Linked DNA regions of Homo sapiens: region 2 is linked to region 1. Evidence: promoter capture Hi-C in human tissues and cell types (Jung and others, 2019). All regions are on one chromosome and are shown on one strand. Each heading gives the region's core, a stretch centred on a gene start or on the middle of the fragment in contact. The rest is flanking DNA. Distances are from core to core; before and after follow the strand shown. Region 1 holds the start of FAM131C (family with sequence similarity 131 member C). Region 2 overlaps SPEN (spen family transcriptional repressor).

What was found. The method cuts DNA at HindIII sites, captures the fragments that hold promoters and counts their contacts. A contact is called where the count stands out against the background at its distance.
Region 2: a contact is called between a fragment that was not itself captured here and the fragment with the promoter of FAM131C in region 1, in 1 of the 25 tissues and cell types used here (aorta).

Annotation. Positions count from the first base shown.
Region 1 is chr1:16,071,889-16,075,650 of GRCh38, reverse strand. It overlaps FAM131C (family with sequence similarity 131 member C), which reads left to right and starts at 2,000. Exons shown (of 7, transcript NM_182623.3): 1 at 2,000-2,230. The coding sequence starts at 2,209. RefSeq lists an enhancer at 1,238-1,737 and a silencer at 1,946-2,105. The HindIII fragment of the contact is 22,024 bases long and covers 1-3,762 here.
Region 2 is chr1:15,874,772-15,878,533 of GRCh38, reverse strand. It overlaps SPEN (spen family transcriptional repressor), which reads right to left. Exons shown (of 15, transcript NM_015001.3): 3 at 1,856-2,332. Among named protein-coding and RNA genes, the nearest start is that of SPEN-AS1, 29 kb to the right of the region's middle. The HindIII fragment of the contact is 3,998 bases long and covers 1-3,762 here.

The sequences.
Region 1 (3,762 bases), core at 751-3,250:
AAGTTAACAGATGAAAAATCTGAGACTCAGAGAGGCGAAGCAACTTACCCAAGGTCGCACAGCTTGTGTGAGCTAAGCCCTCATTCACCCAGGTCTGCTGACACCAGGGCCAGGCACAGAACCGCTCTCCACCCGGACTTTACTGGGCAGAGAGCACCTAGCTTAGAGAAAGAGAAAGAAGTCAGCACCCACTCCCTGGCTCAGCTGCTCTGGCAGTGCGCCCTGGCCCAGATCCTGCCCCTTGAGAGGCCTCCAGCCCTATCCCACGCTGCTGCCTCAAACCTTATTCATTCTTTTTTTTTTTTTTTTTTTTTTTTGAAACAGAGTCTCACTCTGCCGACCAGGCTGGAGTGTAGTGGCACGATTTCGGCTCACTGCAACCTCCACTTTCCCGGGTTCAAGCAATTCTCCTGCCTCAGCCTCCCGAGTAGCTGGGATTACAGGCTTGTGCCACCACACCTAGCTTTTTATTTATTTATTTATTTTGAGATGGAGTTTCTCTCTTGTAGCCCAGGCTGGAGTGCAGTGGCATGGTCTTGGCTCACTGTACCCTGGGTTCAAGCAACTCTCCTGCCTCAGCCTCCTGAGTAGCTGGGATTACAGGCGCCCACCACCACCATGCCTGGCTAATTTTTGTATTTTTAGTAGAGACGGGGTTTCACCATGTTGGCTAGGCTGGTCTCAAACTCCTGACCTCAGGTGATCCGCCCACCTCGGCCTCCCAAAGTGGTGTGATTACAGGCATGAACTACTGTGCCAAGCCCACACCCAGCTAATTTTTTATATTTTTGGTAGAGACGGAGTTTCACCATATTGGCCAGGCTGGTCTCGAACTCCTGACCTCAAGTGATCTGCCTGCCTTGGCCTCCCAAAGTGCTGGGATTACAGGCGTGGGCCACCGCGCCTGGCCCCTCCTTATTCATTCTTCAAAACATTTCTCTGCTGCCACCAGTGAACCTGGCTGCCTCAACTGGAAAACAGACACAAGAGTGCCTGCCCTGCCTGATGCACAGGTGGGCATGAAGGAGAGAGCGAGATGCTATGTGTGAGTGAGGGTCTCAGACACTGACATTGAGTGCTGTGTGCATGGGAAATTTTGCTAAAGGATCTTCACACCTCAGGAGCTGGGATGTGTGTGTGTGTGTGTGTGTGTAAATGCAAGCGTGCTTCAATGTGAGTGTATAACTGTCATTGTGTGGGTGTGAGTGGGTATGTACACATGGGAGACTGTGTATTCATGTGTAGGTATGTGAGTGTGTGTGCGTGTATGTAAATGCAAGTGTGCATATATATGTGTGTGTATGACCATCAGTGTGTGAATGAGGGGTATGTACACATGGGAGAGTGTGTGTGTAGGTACGTGCGAGTAAGTGTGAATGACTACAGAGGCCGTCCAGGGCTGGGGAAAAAAACCTGTGCCTCAGTTTACTCTGCCCTAGACAAGCCCTGAGAGGCAGCCTTGCCCCCCTCTTCAACCATCGCTGGAGACCCTTCATCCCGCCGCCAGGCCACCAGCGCACTATCTACCCGCACTCTCTCTACCCCACCTCTGGGCATATATTATTTTGCATATGTTAATTTCAATAGCTCTGAATGAGGCGCTGACAGTCAAAAGTCGCTGAACTCACAGCTTAGGGCTCTCAGGCAAGGCCTCTAACTTCTGCGAGCCTCACTTTCATCCTCTAAAAATAGGCCCAATGGAACTGTTGTTCTTGCGCGCACCCCTCCTCGCTCCCAAGCCTTCGTGCCCAGTCGTCGTTGGTGTGGTTAAATTCATGTTGTTTACTTTGTGCCCCAAATGCCAGGAGTCTCCCCGCCCCCTCTGTCCCCTTCCCTGACCTTCAGCCCGGGCAACCCCAGGAGGTGGGGGAGCCCCGAAGGGACAGAGATGGCCCTCCCGCGCGCTGCGGCCACAGGTGTGCCCGAGCCTCCCGGCTGCGCTCCCCCGGGCCCCGCCCGCCGCGCCCCGCGGTGTCGCCCTCCCCTGGCAGCGGCGGGCACTGCGCGGGAGGCGGCGGCGCGAGGCGAGCCGGGCGCGGCGGCAGCAGGGACGACCCAGGCTGGAGCTGAGGCCGAGCTGAGGGCGCCCGAGCCCCCCGCCCCGCCCGTCCTCTGGCTCCGCAGCGCTCAGCCCCGGGCCCGCGGAGACATGAACGCCCCGCGGCCCCACGCACCCCGGGCGCAGCGGCCCGGCCCCGCGGCCCCGTGATGGGCTCCTGCGTGTCGCGAGGTGAGGGGGCCCGGCCGGGGGCGGGGGGATCGGGTGCCGGGGACCCGCGCAGTCCCCTCGCCGCTCGGAGACCTGGGGGATGGGGCTGGCGACCCGCCCTTCACGGCCCCGCCGCACCCCTGGGGACGCGGCGTCCTGAGGGGGACAGAGCTAGGGACGGTAGGGGGCGGGGGCAGCGCAGAGAGCGCACGTGCAGAGGTCACCGCATCCCCGCCCCAGTTTGCAGCCCCGCAGGTGACACGAAGCAGGGTCCCGTGCCGTGCCGCGCTCTCATCCCTACAGCCACACACCCCCTGCCGGGTGCCTGGGAACCAGCTCTGGTTCTTCCTGGCTTCCCGGAGGAACTGCGGGCACCGGGAGAACTAGCAGACCCTCCCTTTCCCACCCCTCCCCAAGACACAGGTCTTACCAGCTCACCCCCACAGCCCCTTCCCACGTCTTACCGGGTGCCCCCATCTGCAGAGCCCCTGAACCCTGTTGGCAGGAAAGGGTTAATGGTGGGGCACAGGTTATAAAGAAGGTTCCCCTGCCCCCTAATCCTCCTCCCCACCCCCATCCTTGGACAGGGGACAGAAGGGCCAGAGCACAGCTGATGTTCCCAGTTACCCCTGGGCCTTTCTCTCTGTGTCTGACCTGTCACCCTCCACTCTCCCCCACGTGGTACCCAAGGAGGTGGAGGGGACCTGCCCTTGCCTGGGGGCCCAGGGCAGGCCCCAGCCTCTTCTATCTGTGAGGAGGGGACACACAGTCTTGCACAGAGATTGGGGGATGGGCAGTTTGGTCTTTGGAGCCCCCTACCTCCACCCCCACCCATCACCACCAGCTTTCCAACAGGCTGTTGGGCAACATTTTAGACAAGCGATTGGGCTGAGCCCTTCTCCCACCTTGGTCTGTTCACCCCACAGTGGGATCAGGGGGGTGTGACTGGGAGTGGGGGTGGCTTTGGCCTTGGTTCAGGCTCTGCAGGCTGAGGCCAAACCCACTGACCACCACCACACCCATCACCCCTAGTAGCTTACCCAGAATAGAGGGGACCTTGTCCTGGGGGTATTGAGCAAGGAGCACAATGACCTTCCCCCATCCTCTGGACTCGAAGGGCTTCTGCTCAGGAGTTCCTGTGGGCATTCAGGTAAGTGGCTCAGGATGTCTCTGGGAGGTATCGGGGTGGAATCCCGGCTGGGGAAGGGGAAGGTACAGGGTCAGGCTGTGTGGGGTTCCTTTACTTATCCATGCATTAAGCTGATATTAACATGATAGCTGCCGTGTGCCAGGCACCGTGTGCATGCTGGGCATCCAGCAGCAAGGAACCCAGCACAGCACCTGGTACGGGAGGCCTGCAGCCTAGCGGGAGGGGAAGGAAGTTTGAAGAGTGAGGAGTGCTGAGGGTTCTTTAGGAGCACCAGGCTCCAGAAACCCCAAAGGTTCTAGGCAGTCTCTGGCTGGGGCCAGCTCCAGGTGGAGGGGATCTGAGTGTTTCCTCAGTGTCCCTTCCCCTTCACTTGGCCACCCCATATCAGGCACCTTGGGGTCCC
Region 2 (3,762 bases), core at 570-3,069, 200 kb after region 1:
ACCAAATAAAATCAAAAGAAGTTAAGAGTTTTCATCCATGTCACACGGCTTGAAAGCTGGGCATAGAACGTAACTTTCATGACTTTCTAAACTAGGTGCTTGTTTCATTTTAATATGCAAATCTTCCAGAATGTTTGAATTATATCTAGATAGGCAGAGGGATAAACAAAATGTTTTCATGTATTATTTTGAATAAGAAAATTCAGGAAGCCTAAAAACAGACATTCAACTACATGACCATTTGCTTAAATTAATTTTAAGCAGGCAAAAGAAAAGTAATCTGAGCCTTTTAATCAGGTCAAAGAATTTGACTGTAAATTTTAAATATATACCACCTAAATTGAAAAGCAGGACATGTGGGATTAACAAATTGAATAGCAGCATTTTTTTTAACATATACTAGGTATCAAAGTAAGCATTTTACATTAAGTGTTCATTTTAATTTTCACAATAACTTTATTAAGGTCCTTATTAAAAATGAGAAAGCTTGGCCAGGCGCAGTAGCTCACACTGGTAATCCCAACACTCTGGGAGGCCAAGGCAGGTGAATCACCTGAGGTCAGGAGTTAGAGACCAGCCTGGCCAACACGGTAAAACCCCGTTTCTACTAAAAATACAAAAATTGGCCTGGCATGGTGATGGGTGCCTGTAATCTCAGCTACATGGGAAGCTGAGGCAGAAGACTCACTTGAACCCAGGAGGTGGAGGGTGCTGTGAGCCAAGATCACGCCATTGCACTCCAGCCTAGGTGACAAGAGCGAGACTCCATCTCAAAAAAAAAAAAAAAAAAAAAAAGGGAAAGCTGAGACCTGAAGAACATAAATAACTTATCCTAGATTACTTAAAGGATAATCTATACCACATACCCAGATCTGTGATTTCAAAATCCATATAACTAGGTTTGAAGCTAAGTTTCTTATTAAGATTACCCTCAACTTACTATTTTCGCTTTTCAAATAAAACTTTTTGGCTGGGCACTCTGGCTCATGCCTGTAATCCCAGCAATTTGGGAGGATGAGGTGGGCAAATCACTTGAGGTCAGGAGTTCAAGAACAGCCTGGCCAACATGGCAAAACCTCATCTTTACTAAATACAAAATTAGCCAGGCGTGGTTGCGCACGTTTGTAATCCCAGCTACTTGGGAGGCTGAGGCAGGAGGACTGCTGGAACCCAGAAGGCAGAGGTTGCCGTGAGCCAAGGCTACACCACTGCACTCCAGCCTTGGTGACACAGTGAGACTGTCTTTAAAATATATATATATATTTGTAGAAAGAAATTCTCAACTAGTGAGATCAGTTTACAGAACAGTAAAGTTACAACCTGCATTCAAAGGAAGCTTTTCTACTTGAGTTTATAAATTGGCTACCACCCTGATGTTAAAATTAGCTAAAATTTGTTCATAAGTTGATCTAGTCATTGATAATAAATGTGTCAACAATATTATATTTCACCAATACATATTTAACCAAACAGCTTTTACAAATCTTCAATCAAAATAATAGAAATAAATTGGTATTATACACCTACAAAATTAAAAATGTTAAAGAGATACCATATTTTCAGTGTCACAAGATTTGCCTTGCACAGCTAGAGTCACCACCTCCCTTCCACTTTGATCATTTAATTTTAATACTGTGCATCTGGAGGATGAAACAGAACTTTGCAAATCATCACTTAACTTCGAGTACTTAGAACAGTTAATTCAATGGCCACATGCCAGTTTCTTTACTGATTACATACATATATGATCCAAGATTACTTTAAAAAATAATACTATGCTGAAACCATTCCCACTGATTGTTGAGAATTTGTTTAAAGCTAGCTCATCTGTTATAACAAAAGGCTGTTAACCTACCTGTCACTGCTGGTACTACTGCTGCTGCTGATTGAATCACTACTGGAGGATCTACTTCTAGAGCCGCTGCCGCTAGGGGACCTTGTGGGTCTAGATGCTTGGCTAGCCAGTCTCTGAGGAGACTGATTTCTAGACTGGGATGAATGTGGTGACCGACTCCTGCTGTGCTGGTAATTCCGCTCTGGCCTTCTGCCTCGTACCTCCCGGGTAATATCATCCCTGTAGATATCCCTGTGTACCACACTGGGCAGTGTAAACTGCTCGCGAGCCCTAGGTTCATATCGGGGGTCATGAGCATCAAAGCGATTTGGACTTCGACTCCGAGAAGCGTAATAGAGCCCATGTTGTAAAGTCCGCTCTCGAGGATCTCTATAGTAATCCTGATCGTAATGTCTTGTCCGATCAAATCCTCCCGTCCCCCGTTCATGGTGTCCATAGGCACTATGTTCATAAGCACGCTCCCTGTTATCTGAAGCCCTGCATTTAGGAGGGGGAAAAATATTTAATCAGAAAGGAGCAAGCAAAACTAAAAGCAAGTCATGCAAACATTCACTTCAGCATTGTCTTTGTCTTTGCAACTGGTCATTTTCTAAACAGCATTAACCTACTTAATAAGCAAACGCTAACAAGCTTAACATTTTACTTGACTCCAAAAATTATTTTCACAGCTGAGCAATCATTGTTTTCATTGTATATTGGGCTTTCATGACTAGTGTTCTGCAGCTCACTTGCTTACTTTATTAGAGATTTTCTGACTTGCATACATAAATATACAATCTCCTTTTCATGTTAACGGAACAAGAGACTATTTTAATAATATGAAAGTTTTTACACTTTCATCTGATTAAAGTATATACCAAATTTTATTTACTCACAAATTTCTTTTAGGCCACATTTCCATGCTATGTTTTAACTTAGACATGAAAGCCCTGCTGCAGCGCATGTCTCAACAATAGGAAGGACTTTCAAGAAGTCCAGAAAAAATTTTCTAAGTTTAACTTTTTTTCATTAAGTTTTGACTGCTTGGATAGTTATAAAAAATTACTGGACTACATAAACTAGACTACATAGACTGCACAGCGGTACCCAATTACATTTAATAATAAAAATAGAATCTCAAAAAAAAACCACTTCAAGTATCAAAATATTGGGTTACCACATGCTACTCTATGTGAATTTAAATAAAAATAAAAATTATTTACTCCTGTGCTATCAAATTCCAAATGACTTTAAAAATGCCTATTCCATGATTCAATTTCTTAATGTATAAACTCAATGGTTGTAGGAAATATGTTCTTTTGGCTTTTAGCTATACTCAAATTGCCTGTGATGAAATTAGGTAACATTAGGAACTATAAGATATTCTAAGGTCGCTATTAGCAAAATAGCTTAACTTAAACAATCATTTAGTAGGATGTGAATACCTGTCAACCTAAAAAGTACAAAACACGTTGCATGTACGATTACACACATGCAATTATGTGTTAATATTAAAAACTAGTTATAATCCTATAAAGAAATCGTAAGTTCTCTACTTTTGTAGAGAACTAGAACTCAGCTCCTGAGTTCCTAAAAGACCATTTCACTGGAGTTTCTCTTCAACCCATCTCTGGATCTATCTTCTATCAAAAGGGATTAAGGAATCATGAAACATAAAGAATTAGAATCTCTCCAATGAAGAATATCTGGCAAAATCTTATAACAATTAATACCAGATCCCCAGTACATGCTTAGATTCCAGGTCTCTCCACTAATATTCTTTTCACCCATCATTTCACTTAGTAGCAACCCCACCTTCCTAGGCTTAGTTTAGCTTTTTTTGCTGCTATTGTGAAAAACAACTGGCATGATAAACATTCTATATCTTTCCTACTTAAATGTATTAAATGAGTTTCTCTTTTATTTAC